Regions from separate parts of the Homo sapiens genome. Here all the other regions are linked to region 1. Evidence: promoter capture Hi-C in 16 types of primary human blood cells and fetal thymus (Javierre and others, 2016). All regions are on one chromosome and are shown on one strand. Each heading gives the region's core, a stretch centred on a gene start or on the middle of the fragment in contact. The rest is flanking DNA. Distances are from core to core; before and after follow the strand shown.

Evidence for each region. Contacts are between HindIII fragments. The CHiCAGO score rates a contact against its expected background, and 5 or more counts as called.
Region 2: a contact is called between a fragment that was not itself captured here and the fragment with the promoter of RAPGEF2 in region 1, in 2 of 17 cell types (total CD4 T cells and non-activated CD4 T cells). The highest score is 8.6, in total CD4 T cells.
Region 3: a fragment that was not itself captured here is called in contact with the fragment with the promoter of RAPGEF2 in region 1 in 1 of 17 cell types (non-activated CD4 T cells); the score reaches 6.0 in non-activated CD4 T cells.
Region 4: a contact is called between the fragment with the promoter of NAF1 here and the fragment with the promoter of RAPGEF2 in region 1, in 1 of 17 cell types (activated CD4 T cells). The highest score is 6.0, in activated CD4 T cells.
Region 5: a fragment that was not itself captured here is called in contact with the fragment with the promoter of RAPGEF2 in region 1 in 1 of 17 cell types (total CD8 T cells); the score reaches 5.6 in total CD8 T cells.

Annotation. Positions count from the first base shown.
Region 1 is chr4:159,101,760-159,104,459 of GRCh38, reverse strand. RAPGEF2 (Rap guanine nucleotide exchange factor 2) reads right to left here and starts at 1,381. Exons shown (of 30, transcript NM_001394067.2): 1 at 229-1,381. The coding sequence starts at 297. RefSeq lists silencers at 242-661, 629-923, 672-961, 1,002-1,221, 1,352-1,891 and an enhancer at 1,540-2,231. The HindIII fragment of the contact is 5,553 bases long and covers 1-2,700 here.
Region 2 is chr4:155,369,956-155,372,770 of GRCh38, reverse strand. The region is part of intron 4 of MAP9 (microtubule associated protein 9); the gene reads left to right. Among named protein-coding and RNA genes, the nearest start is that of MAP9, 5.6 kb to the left of the region's middle. The HindIII fragment of the contact is 1,698 bases long and covers 712-2,409 here.
Region 3 is chr4:154,544,677-154,547,376 of GRCh38, reverse strand. It overlaps PLRG1 (pleiotropic regulator 1), which reads left to right. Exons shown (of 15, transcript NM_002669.4): 4 at 313-366; 5 at 1,164-1,254; 6 at 1,454-1,541. Among named protein-coding and RNA genes, the nearest start is that of PLRG1, 4.4 kb to the left of the region's middle. The HindIII fragment of the contact is 1,579 bases long and covers 661-2,239 here.
Region 4 is chr4:163,165,525-163,168,224 of GRCh38, reverse strand. It overlaps NAF1 (nuclear assembly factor 1 ribonucleoprotein), which reads left to right and starts at 1,335. Exons shown (of 8, transcript NM_138386.3): 1 at 1,335-1,862. The coding sequence starts at 1,498. RefSeq lists enhancers at 1,382-1,581, 1,602-1,721, 1,752-1,831, 1,323-2,190. The HindIII fragment of the contact is 3,845 bases long and covers 188-2,700 here.
Region 5 is chr4:155,942,194-155,944,894 of GRCh38, reverse strand. CTSO (cathepsin O) reads left to right here. Exons shown (of 8, transcript NM_001334.3): 2 at 1,631-1,739; 3 at 2,439-2,578. Among named protein-coding and RNA genes, the nearest start is that of CTSO, 10 kb to the left of the region's middle. The HindIII fragment of the contact is 393 bases long and covers 1,139-1,531 here.

The sequences.
Region 1 (2,700 bases), core at 132-2,631:
ATGGGGAGGGAAGAGTTAAGGAGCAGAATGTCAAGGAGAGGGAAAAATAAAACCAGGATAGGCGGAGTAAAAGACTCGGAGGTGGGATGCCTTTGGAAGTTGGGGGTCCTGATGCAAGAAGTGGGGTGCTCGGGGCGAACTGTGTCAGGAAGGAGGTGGGGGGACAGGGGAAGACGCAGCCTGCGAGGCAGAAATCCGGCCAAGGGCAGGCGGCCGCCGCGTTCTCACCTGGGGGGTCCTTTCGGGGGGATTCTTCATCACCGCCTGGCGGAAGCTGTTATCTACGTAGGACGCCATCTCCCCTCTGGGAGCGGGCCGGGGCCGCTCCGCACCCTGGCCGGCCTCCTCCCGGCCCAGCGCCGCTGCTGCCTCCGCCCTGCGCGCTGCGCCCGCCCGCCCGCCCGCGACTAATCAGCCAAACCGCGGCGGCGGCGGCGCGGGGCCCGCGGGGGGGCGGCTCGGCTGGGCCCGGCGGCCGAGAGCGCGGTACAGGCGCGAGGGGCTGGACGCAGCCGGGAGGGTCGCGGCGCCCCTAGGCTGCCGTGCGATGCGGCCCGCAGGCGGAACTCCCCTTCCTCCTCCTCCTCCTCTTCCTCGCCGCTCCGCCGGCTTCCTCCGGCCCTGGCTCGACACGCCTCCCCGGCTCCACTCGGGGGACAGTGGCGGCTCCTCCTGGCCCCAGCGGGCCCGAGTTATTTTTAGGGAGGTACGAGTGGCAGTGGGGAGGGCTGTGGGCAGGCGGAGCCTCCTCCCCCACGGCGCTGAGGGTCGCCCCCTCCTCTCAGGGGCTTGCGCAGCCGCCGCCCAGGGGTCTCCGAGAATCACTTGGATCTTCCGCGTCCCCAGTCCTCGGGCGCCTCGGCCGCCGGTCGGGAGGACGGACCAGGTGGGTCTGGCTCAGGTCCGGGCGCTGCGAAGCCCGATCGCCTCGGCCGCCGCTCCTGGTCTCTGTCTACTGGGCTCGGCCGTCCCTCCCGACTGCTGCTGCATCCCCTCGGGCCGCCCAGCCGCCGCCGCCGCCGCCTCTGCTGCTCGGGCCGCCGCTGTGGGCTCCGCCGCCGCCGCCTCCCCCCATCAGCGCGCCCGGAGCGGAGCTGCCCCGGCGCCGGCGCCGCCGCGGCCAGAGCACCCGGCCCGGGCTGCAGCCCTCCGGCCCAGTCGCTCTCGGCAACTTTGTTCCTCGTCTGCGCGGGGCGGAGGAGGGGGAAGAGGGGGCCGCGGACAGCCCGGGTTCGGACTCCCGGCGCGGGCGTCCGAGGGCCGAAAGCCGAGAGCCGCGCACAGCCCCCTCGGAGAGAGTGTTTGGGAAGCGGCGATTCCCCTCCTCTTCCTCCGCCTCTTCCTCCTCCTGCGCCTTCTCCGGCCGCCGGAGCCGCTCCTCAGGGAGGAAGCGGCCTCTGGGGCTTGTTGCTTTGTGCTGCAACCATGGTGAGGAATGAGTGACAGCGTGGGGGCGAGTCGGCGGCCGCCGCATCATCGGGGGGCGGGGCAGCCCCGTCGCGCCGGGTCCCGCCTCCCCGCTCCCCGCCCGCCAGCGGCCGCGCCCTCGCGTCTGAGCGGCACCTTCGGCGGCGCCCAGGTGAGCAGCGCTCTGGCCGCAAGTGGGTCGCGGAGCCCTCGGCCGGGCTGTCGGGTCCCGCGCGCGGCCTGGACCCGAAGAGGGGGCGCAAGTCCTGGTGCCCCGGAGAGAAGCGCAGGGCTTTCCTCACGCAGTGTCCCCCACTGTCTCACGCCGCGCCCCCTCCCCACACCCGACGCGCCCTACTAGGAGACCCAGCCGCGTCGGGTCGCTGCTCCCCGCCCGCTCCTGGCGCCACGCCGCCGCCCAGGGGCTGAAAGCTAACCTTGGGCAAAAGACCGGCCCACCAGCCCGGGCTGTACTGGGCATTCTTTTTGAGCCCAAGAGTTGCGTCCGAGTTGCTTCTGTGGCGATAAATCCTCTTAGGATTTATTTTGCTTATTTGTAATTTGCTGCACCCTCCCCTGCTTTCCAAGCCCACTCTGGCACCTCAGACAGTAAAATGACCACGAAATTAGGCAGAGAGGTTTCAACACCAGACCCACTACCACCCCTAGACCAACAAACACTCCAGATTTAAAGTTGATCACTCCTTAGCGACAGACCAGGATGGCAAGTTCTGTGACATAATCAGAAACATTTATTGGTAGGTCTGGCTTTGCCTTGGACAGAACAAGCCTCCTCCTCTAGATGCTCAAATTTCCAAACCGGACCCACATGGTGCAGAAACAATACCTCGTCCTTCAAGATGTCACCGCTCCTGCTGATTCCCTCAGCTCCCCCCCACTCCTTGCCCCGGCCACGTAGAGGTGTGTTAAGGTCAGCCCAAGCATCGGGGACCACTCTGCTGTTCTGGTCCCAGGGATTTATTTTTGTTTGCCCCCACCCCCCACAAGTTCTTATTTTGATATCTATAGACACAATGAGTTTTATGTATGAGCTACTGCGTTGAACTTTTCAAACATGATTTTCAACATCTAGTTTAAACACTTGGAATAGATTGTCAGCTAACATTTTGGGGTTCCTTAAGTCACCTGTGTGCACTAAACAGCTTGTGTGACTTCCTAGCAAAGGGACTGTCCCTGCCCAACCTTGTGAAAGGGAATCTGAGTTACAAATTGTATCTGTAGACCTTTTTATATTACTCTTGCTGGAACTGCTTCTCTATATTTCTCTTTCAC
Region 2 (2,815 bases), core at 311-2,810, 3.7 Mb after region 1:
AATCCCTCTCACACTCCAAAGATTAGAGTTACAGCAATATTGAGACTAATCCTTCTAACAGTCTTTGCCATACCAACATTGTGCCAGAAAATTTTCTTGACATTTGTATATTTGAAGGATGAGTTATGTTATTGCTGCTGTTGTTTGTTGAAGCATCCAGGCACTCCTTAAGAGAATCTCCATTTGATCTCTGTATTGCCTATGAAAATCTACTAAGATTCAGTTTTCCAAAGGAAAGTTCCTGGTGTGATCTGGGATTACAGTTAGTTCTGCCCACAATTTTACTGAATTTTAAGCATAAAGGAACAAAGATAGAATGAAACGGAGACCAAGTCCTGTCACATACCCTGGGCCACCATTCATGAACTTGTATATGCAAGGTTAAGGATTTTTTGTTTTTCATTCTTTGTATTTTATAAAGGAATTATTAGTTGATGTTAACCTTCATAAAAATCTCCTTGCATATCATCAGTAAATACAGTGCTGGTAAATATTTCATACTTTGCATATTAGATACCAGTGGTAACGTCAGACAAAACTTTATTTCAGGCATGTATTGGGGAACTGCTCCTTTCTTCCTGACCCCACAATCTCATTAACTTTGAAATGAGCAAAGGATGTAAGCAGAGCAAAGAACACTAGAATAATATCCAGGACACTGGGGGAAAGGCCTCTGTATATTATATATGACTTCAGCAAATAAGTTAAGCTTCAGTATCCTCATGATGAGGAAGCTAAAAATAACCCTCTTTCTATTCCTGCAAAATTGTGAGAGTTTATTGAAGTGCATCTCATAAACTATAAAAAACTACAAAAATGCAAACAGATGCATAATGAAACAATTAACTTGTTAAAATGTACCTTCTAAGTATAGTGAGTGAAATCAATGCTGGAGAGAAGAGGAACATAATTGAACTTCGTTATTAAGAAAATGCGAGCATATATAGCAACTAAAAATTTGTCTGAGACAGGTGGATGTATATAATTAGAAGTTTATGGTAGATAATCAGGAAAGCAATAATCCACCTATTTCATACCTTAAAAAAAAAAAAAACCTGTGGTGGGTTACAATGAATAAGAAAATACTGTATTTTAACCACAAGGTGGCATCAGGATCCTAAATGCTCTACTTATATATGCAATGTTATATTCAGTACGTGTAATATAAAAATAATTACCTAAATAGGTAATTGTATACATTGATTACCAAAAAAAGCGCTTTTCTTAAAGTATAGGCATTTTTTTTTCTTTTTGGGAACTTGACAGTACTTCTGGAAGTGGAATTTTTGTAGAAAATATATTAAAGTTGTCATTCTCAGGTTCTTCAGGTTGAAAAGTAAAAATTGAGGCTAGTGTTCCTAAGATAATATCTGGCATATATAATAAGTATTTAAATGAATAAATTAATATATGAATGATTTATCTTTGAAAGAGGGAATATGGTTCATGAGTTTATCCTCTAAATTCTTTGACTTTTTTTTTTTCTGTACAGGTTTGGAACTCAATGTTTTTAATGTGGTGAGATATTGCTGAGTAGCAAGTAATGCTTTATGAAACTATTAGAGCTTGAAGGTTTTCTCTGTCCTTGCTTGTCTTTTGTAAAAAGTATAATAACCAGACTTTATAGTCACTACTGAAGTGACAGTTGCTCTATAAAGTGAAAGTATTTTTCACAGGATATGTTTTTATTTTAATACTAACATGACTGAAATCATGAACTTTGGAGTCAGGATGCTTCTCCTTTAATCTGAGATCTGCAGCCTGCTAGAGTTTGTGACTTTGGGCATGAGACCTCTTTGTTCTCATTTTATTCATCTTTAAAAACGGGATAATAGTTGCCTGCCTCTAGGAGTTTGAGGCAATTAAATGAGTTCACATATTTGAAGTGCTTAGAATAGTACTGGCATAAATTTAGCACTCTATAAATGTTCTGATTATTCATTTTATTATTTAGCGTTTGTTTATAAACATGCTCAGCAGGTATAAAGTATCAGTCATGCGGGATGCGTAAGTTCTAGAGATCTGCTGTACATTGTGCCTATAGTTAACAGTACTGTCTTTTGCACTGAATGTATTAAGAAGGTAGATCTCATGTTTGTTCTTACCACAATAATAAAAAAAATTGACTCAACACCTTCTTTCAGGCATTATATAATATTCTGCTTAAACTGAGGCTCAAAAGACATGCAAGCATTTGTCAGGAGGAGAAGCAGGAAGTGGATATTCTAGGCAGGGGGATCAGCTTAGGTAAAGGTATGGTAGCAGGAGGGATTGGAGGGATTGTGGTATGTGTGCATGACAACTGTTAGCCCAGCATTTCAGAAACACAGATGACAAAATGGCTGTAGATAAGGCAGTGAAGGACAAAACCATAAAATCCGTTTTATGTTGTTTAAAGGCAGTTAAGCTTTTATTCTGTAGGATTGGATCATGGGGAGCCATTGAATAATTTTGTAGAAAGGAGTGATGTGATCTGATTTGGATTTTGTAAATATCATGGAAGCAGTGATCTAGGAAAGAGTGGATAAGGACCCGACAGCAGGGATGTAGAAAGTGGAATAAATGAGATATTTGGCAATTAGAATTGATAGGATATATTGATACTCTGGATTTAGGGGATAATAGAGGGAGGAATCTAGAGCCCTTGGATTTGGGGTTGAACATTTGGCTGGAGTTTAGGATGTAGCTAAAATTGTCAGCTACTTATAATAATACCAATTTGGTATGGTTGTGGAATCTTCTGGCAGAATCCATAAGCCCATTTTTAGGTAAATGGGAGGAAGATGTTAATTAGACCAATTTTGAAGTTGAGAAA
Region 3 (2,700 bases), core at 201-2,700, 4.6 Mb after region 1:
CTGAAATCTTAATAAGTAAAGAGAATTCAAGATTCCACAGGAAACCATTTGCTTGGAAGAAATACCAGAGTGGATTGTCACTTGATAGGAGGGCTTCTTTGTATACCATTGCTATATAGCAAATGGTCAAGGACATGGTTTACAGAGATCAAAGCAAAAGTGATCAACTTCCCTTATTTCTGAGGCTTGACTTTAGTTGAGAAAATTTGATAGATCCAGTTGAAAACTTAATATTACTTGATACATTTAAAGAGATGATAACTTTTGTATAAGGTAAATTCACTACTGTTGATTTTTTTTGTGTTTTTTTAGGACAAGAAGTTGAATACTTTGTGGCAGGTACACATCCATACCCACCAGGACCTGGTTAGTGAGCTGTTATATATTGAAAATGTCTTAAAAATGTCACATATATTTTCACTAACGAGCCAATAATGAGATTCTTGTTGCCTATAAAATGCAAGATAAGCTCAGTAGCCAAGCATCCATGCATAGCTTTGTAGGTAATAATGAATACTCATATGCCTTCATTCAGCAAACATTCTTAAGTACGTATAATTTTTCAGGCAATGTGCTAGGAATTCAAAGACAGTAAAACTGTTGCAGGCCTAGTTATTTATTATCTGGTGGTTTAGGCAGACATGTAAATATCACTAAGCTTGTAAAAATGATGGAAATGTTAGAAGCAGTATCTGAGAAACATGTCCTCTGTCTGTATTAAGGCATTGGTCCACAGATGGAGTGGCCAGTGTAACAGGGTAGAGGACAAAAGGCTTAGTATGTAAAGAAAGTACAGGGAAATTGGGTGTTTCTAGTTTTAGTAAGTTACATCCACTCTTGGAAACATTCTGTTAGTATTTGAGGAACTGCTTAATACTGACTTGAAACTAATACCCAAATATAATGGAAATTAACTTTACTATTCTGGGCTGCTTTAATACCATGTGGGCTGTGATCAAATCAAATTTGAGTTACGTGTTATTAAGCAGTATTTATTGTAGAAATTAAAAACAAAGATGAGCAAAACTTAATCAAATTTGTATAATATCACTGCCTGGAGATAATAAACATTTGGTGTATGTTTTCCTTCATCATTTTATTTTAAGTGCATGTAAATGAATAATACACAGCTACTAAAAGAAGTTGATTTTTCATTTTAATAGGGGTTGCTTTGACAGCAGATACTAAGATCCAGAGAATGCCAAGTGAATCAGCTGCACAGTCCTTAGCGGTGGCATTACCTTTGCAGACCAAGTATGAAATATTATAATTACAAAGATCTTAAAAGCATATTTCACTGTTCACATTTTTTCTTTTTAAAATTTCTTTATAACTATTATATGACATTTTCCTTTATCAGGACTTTATAACAATTTAAAATAAAGGGTTAGTTTTGCAGAATACATGACTGGAGGCATTAATTACTTTGAAAATATTATTTCTTTTGCCCCAGGGCTGATGCAAATCGTACTGCCCCTAGTGGAAGTGAATACCGACATCCTGGGGCTTCTGACCGTCCACAGCCTACAGCGATGAATTCAGTAAGTTTTTCTGCATCAAATAGCAGGTTTCTAACTTTTGGAACATGTTGCCATATTTCCCTCTTCTTTGGAATTATTAAGATAAATAGCAGCCTGAGCTAGTCATTCATATTTCATAGCCCTAAAACTCAAGTTGGTAGTAAATTAACGTATTTTTTGGAATTTAATTCTGTTATTTGTCTACTTGTACATTGTGTGTAATATATATTTTGATAAAGATAATGTGATGTTGGTATTTATTGCCCACTATTAAAAATGCAAGGAGAGTTTTTCTGAAACTTGTGTTAGTATGTATTGAATATGAAAGTCTTTTTTTTTTTATTAAATTTTAAGTTGGTGTGTACAGTTATCTTGAGTGCTGTTAGTGTTGTACTATTCATGGGCTATACAACTAGTCTTATAAATGAGCATTTAGAAATAAGTTTATCTGTTTGTAAGTAAATGGCAACTGGTATTAGTATGGTAGAAATAGTTGTTGAATTTTCTATAGTTATTTTATTGATTTATCTGCAGCATAATAAAATATGCTGCCACTTGAAATAAGTGCTGGTTTTGCTTCTCAGCTCATTATGCAATTGATTTGACTTTATGAAGTGAATGAATGTGTAACTGCCACATCTCCTTTCCTCCTTTATTCCATTCAGAGCACGTCTTCTGTCCAGGCTCTCTACCCTCCTTATGAGGGTATAATTTAAGCTTCTTGAGGGCAGGAACTTTATGGGCTTATTTATGTTTTGGATGACTAGATGACTGCTAACAACAGATGGTATATCAGGCAGTATACCTGTTAAAATAGTATTTAAATATTGTATTAGAAGATAAATAGAAGGAACTGTCAGTCTTTGCTATATTAAACCAATAATGTTAAAATATGACAATGAAAGACAGTGGCACTAATACACTTAAAATGACTTTAATATTGGGAGCTTACATGGAGCATTTACTACTTATTAAATCTTTGTAGTAACCCTATGAAATAGGCACTATTCTTCCCATTTTACAGGTGAGCCACATAGAGGTTACATGATTGTTACCTAATGTCAAACAGCTAGTAATTGGCCAAGCTGGGTTTTGAACCCGTACACAGTGATGTGTGCTCTTAAGTCTAATGCTCTGCCTGTCTGTGATTTTATAATTGCTTTTTTAAGTTAACATACAG
Region 4 (2,700 bases), core at 86-2,585, 4.1 Mb before region 1:
ATCATTGTGCTAGTAAGTTCGTATCCCAAGTTTAAAGTCCTTCTTCACTTTGGAGGATTTCCATGAAATAGCCTACCAATCCTACTTCCCATTTCTGCTGCACTTGGATTTTCTATTTCATATTTCAAATATTTTTCTAGTTATCTCCTGTGCATTGCCCTTCTCTACTTCAAGTAGATTGTAAGCTTCTTAAAACCTTACTCTTATTACACTTGCCTTGCATTTCTATGAAGATCTACTGTTGTAGATGACACACTAAATTCTCAGTGAATAATTTATAAAATCTTTAGCACAGTCCTTGGCACATATGCATGTTTAACAAATGGTATCAATGATTATTATTACTACACAGGGACTGATGCCTCAAACTGAAGACCTAATAGGAAACCAGAAAATTCTGATCTCTTCCTCAGTCCTAAGAACTCTGCTTGCTTTCTCCACAATTTAGACTAGTGGTTTCCAACAATAAGTGAGTACATTTCAGTCTCATAGTCTCATCTCTCTACTACGAAACAGTGCTAAGTATGATATAGACATCACCATAACATGAACAACACAGCAAAATTTTGTCCATTACTGCTCTCTTTGAGGGTACTTTGGAGAAAGGAAAATGGAATAGTTGTAGTTACATTTTTGAAAAAATGGTTAATACCCTATCTATCGACAGATGGATCTATTGATGGATAAACTTCATTTAACTTTCATGAAGTTACTAGCGTCTTGTCAAGACTTCCTGGCTCAAGTTTCTGATGTACAGAACTTAGCATTCTTCAGGCACCCCCCTGTTGTATAATCCCTGCTTCATTTTGGCGCTTCAAGCAGAATTGGTTCACATGCAGCAATAGGAAAATCCGACATTCAGGCCTTGAATGGTTCACATGACGCAGTGAAAACGGTCGATTTAGGGCCTCCCTAGTCCTGATTATTTTTTTTTGAGACGGAGTCTCGCTTTCTCGCCAGGCTGGAGTGCAGTGGCGCGGTCTCGGCTCACTCCAACTTCCGCCTGCTGGGTTCAAGCGATTCTCCTGCCTCAGCCTCCCAAGTAGTGGGAATTACAGGCACGCGCCACCATGCCCAGCTAATTTTTGTATTTTTAGTAGAGATGGGGTTTCACCATGTTGGGCAGGCTGGTCTGTGAACTCCTGACCTTGTGATCCGCCCACCTCGGTCTCCCAAAGTGCTGGGATTACGAGCGTGAGCCACGGCGCCCGACCCCCTAATCCTGATTTTCGAAGATATGACGCATGTATCCTGCCCCCGCGAGCGCCGTCGCGCCGTCGCGCCACATACGTCACACGCTCTTCGGAAAGCGTTGCTGCGTAAATGGCGGGGGCGTGTCTTTTGGCTCCTCCGCGTGTAGTTACCTGAGAAACGCGGGAAGTTGGGCCCAGGCAGTGTTGCTGCGGTTGCCTAAGTTGTTTTTCTATTTCTGGAGAGAGCCGTGAGCTTGTCCAGGGGCCCCAATCCTGAGGCCGACCCGGTTTCTGGCGCGGTGCGATGGAGGTAGTGGAGGCCGCCGCCGCTCAGCTGGAAACTCTGAAATTCAATGGCACCGACTTTGGAGTTGGGGAAGGTCCGGCGGCTCCGTCTCCGGGCTCTGCCCCTGTGCCAGGGACACAGCCGCCGCTACAGTCGTTTGAGGGGTCCCCGGACGCTGGGCAGACCGTGGAGGTTAAGCCTGCCGGGGAGCAGCCTCTGCAGCCCGTTCTGAACGCCGTCGCGGCCGGGACCCCGGCGCCGCAGCCACAGCCACCGGCTGAATCGCCGGCCTGCGGAGACTGCGTCACCTCCCCAGGAGCCGCAGAGCCTGCGCGGGCGCCGGACTCCTTGGAGACCTCGGACTCGGATTCGGACTCGGACAGGTCGGGTGCCTAAGGGACCCGGAGCTGTGGGGAGAGGTCTTGTATGACGGGCGGGGGTGGCTGGGGCCTAGGAGCCTAGAGGTTGCTTGTGTGGGCCCTGGAGGGTGGGCAGGTCGTTGGTGCTCCGGGCTCACGTGTTGAAGTATTGGCTCCGACTGCCCCTTATTCGCTGCCTCTCAAAGCAGGTCGCGTTGTGAATCTGAGCTTAGTACTGACTTATTTCCTAAATTTGGTGGCCTGAAGGGTTCTATGTATAGATCGTATCATTTTTTGTTAGACTTTAGAAAACCCGAGGATCTTAGGTTATTTCCGTAACTACTCAGTTTAGGCTGTACTTTTGTGGTTATAGTTGAGTTTTGTGTCAGATCTGATTTTTTTTTATCATCACATCTAGGCTTTGTTTTTTGAACCACATACATTGGGGATCAGGAAAAGTATTATTTTTTGTGTTTCAAAGCTGGCTCTTGATGATTACGTTAATTTATAGAATCCTTGCAGGGAACACGTGTTTATGAAAGTAGCCAAACAGTGTTATTTAGTAGTATCTTATGCTTCTTACGTTTTGTGAGAGCCTTTCCCCCTTGCCCCCACACCTGTCTTTTAAATATGAAATCTCTGGGCTGGAGAGGACTCCAGCATGTGGGATGTTACTAAACCACACTGAACATTGTCTACAAATAGTTGAGTGTGTTGAGTGGGGTACTGAACAGGTTAACAAGATAGACACGTGTTGAGGAGGTGAGAAGTTTAGTTTTCAGGGAAGTCATCAGCGGAGAGTGGAAGTGAAGAAGGCTGAAGGATTTGAGTAGAAGGAGAGGGTATGAAATGTACTGGGAGG
Region 5 (2,701 bases), core at 86-2,585, 3.2 Mb after region 1:
TTGCAATGTAATTCTGACCCTGAGTGAAGGAAAAAAGGAAGGAAGACTGGGGAAGAGTTCCATGCTGTCTCACAGTCCAAGGAAACTTTGGTTTGGCAAGGCCATCAGGGAGTCATTAATCAAAAACCAGCTGTCAGGGGAGTCCCATTTGTCTCCCAAATAGCAAGCCTTAGCACTAAGTCATGAGCTAGGTGCAGCCCGTAAGAACTGTGGCTTCCCTTGGTGTGATCATGGAGATTTCAACTAGCAGCAGCTAAACTCCCTATAGAAAGAAGGCTGGGAGGCACATTCTCATGGCTGCCACATTCTCTCCTGTGCATTCTTAACATCCTACATTTTCAGTGCCTTCCTGACTACTCCAGCTCACAAAGATGGCCAGGCAGTACTTATTGAATGAATGAATCCTCTGAATTCCTTAGCAGTTAATAGTCTCTGGCTTATATTTGTCATTTGCCATATACAGAATTACCTTGTATTCTAGTTCTATTTTTACATTTATATATCCAGGTTATATTGAAAGCCTTGCTTCATCAAGATTATTTTAAAGTACCTCAAAAACTTTATTAATTTGTTGATTAGCAATCTTCCTAGGTATGCACAAAAGGAAAAAAAATAAGATTATGACAACTTCCAGCAATAATTTACTTAAAAATAAACAGCTTAAAGTTATTAAGGGCATGATATGGAAAATGTCACTTATCTATTTATTCAACAACAAACACTTATCAAGGATCTATTGTGTGTCAGCCATGTGCTAAGTGAGTGTCTCACCATAAGGAATAAGACATATAAGCAGTCATCATTTTGCTTATAGGTTTTTGATACAGACACACAATAAACACATAAGTACATAGACAAATATGTAGAAGCGCTAGGGTTGGAAAGGTACCAAATGATAGCCCCCTGAAATTTTATTTATTCTATGTAATTGGTTAGTATTACGAAATTGAAGCATGTTTATATATAAAAGATAAGCTTAAGATAAATTGTCACAAAATTCAAAGTTGAGAAATCAGTAAATAATGGTCACATTTCCCCTCCAGATAGAGAAACCAGGCTATCTTCTTCAAATATTTCCAGAATTGCATCTGTCACAGAGCCTTTGTACCCTACATGAGATAGAGATATCTATAAAGCTTTAATAGAATCAGATTGATTTATTAATTTATTTACCCAGTCTGTTTTTCATGCTTCATTACTTAGTTCCGGGAAACACAAAGGTGAAGAGGACATATTCCATATTCATAATTGTTTAACCACATGAGTGAATGTCTAAAGGTGACAATTTGCTTCTAGTATCTAGTGTTTATTTGCAGTCTATTTCTTTTTTCCCACTATGTCAATACTTTAACAGCTGTATATGGAATGCTTGCAACAAACCTGGTGATGGGGAATTATAAATGAATAAAATACACTTTTCTCAGCCTCAAAAAATGTCTGCAATTAGATAATAATTCTAATAGAAAATATTTATGAATCTCCTATGGATATCTTATACAACTTTACATTGTAGTCTGAAGGAAATCAAGCTTTAACTTTATAATTGAAAAATTTCTCCAAGTTAGTTATACACAGTTTACTTTGGAAAACTGACATAGTGGATATGAAATAGTTTTTGTTTTTCTTCTAGGAAAGTCTTAATAGACATCGATACTTGAATTCTTTATTTCCCAGTGAAAACTCCACCGCCTTCTATGGAATAAATCAGTTTTCCTATTTGTTTCCTGAAGAGTTTAAAGGTATAGTCCGATGTTGCTATTTAGGTGGTTTCCTGATTTTAATTTGCTTGCTTAACTTTTGATAAATATTTCATTGTAAATCTAATATATTGAGTAATAGTTAACATTTATTAAGTGTCTACTAAATGTCAGGCATGTACCATGTGCTCACATAAGAAAATAAATTCATGGCCAGTCTCTTCTAATTACTGCTTAAGAAATGAATGTTATAATTATGCACATTTCCATGTGGCTATAAAGGATAATTGTCTAATCACTTCTGCAGTTTTCTAGTGCTTTTTCTCTTCAGGACACACATGGTTCCATGGGTTATGATAGAACAAATGATGTCAATTATACTTATTTTTATTATTGACCTGGTTCTATCAAACAAATCATTTTATGTGTCAACTCCAGCCTTATTGTAGGAATTCTCTTTTGTAGTTTTTAATGAATGCATTTTATGTTATAGAAAAGCACAAGAGAAAATCTAAAATAGCAGGTCTACTAGAAGGCTACTGTTTCTTCTTTAAAAGTTCCTCCCAAAGAATCTCAAGGATATAATATAATATAATATTGGTTGTCTTTTAGTATAATATTGGTTGTCTCCCTATAATATAATATTGATTGTCTTTATATATAACAAATATATATGATATATATAATATAATATATTGTAATATAATATTGGTTGTATTTTCATTTTATGTTTCTACTCAGCCATTTATTTAAGAAGCAAACCTTCCAAGTTTCCCAGATACTCAGCAGAAGTACATATGTCCATCCCCAATGTGTCTTTGCCGTTAAGATTTGACTGGAGGGACAAGCAGGTTGTGACACAAGTGAGAAACCAGCAGATGGTACGTTGAAATCCCTCTTCTTTTCTAATCATCTAAGCATTGAAAGGCAGCTTTGAGGTCAAGTTTAATCAAAGTTGTAATGGAAACATCATTTCTCTAGGAAAATCACATCTCAGTCATCCA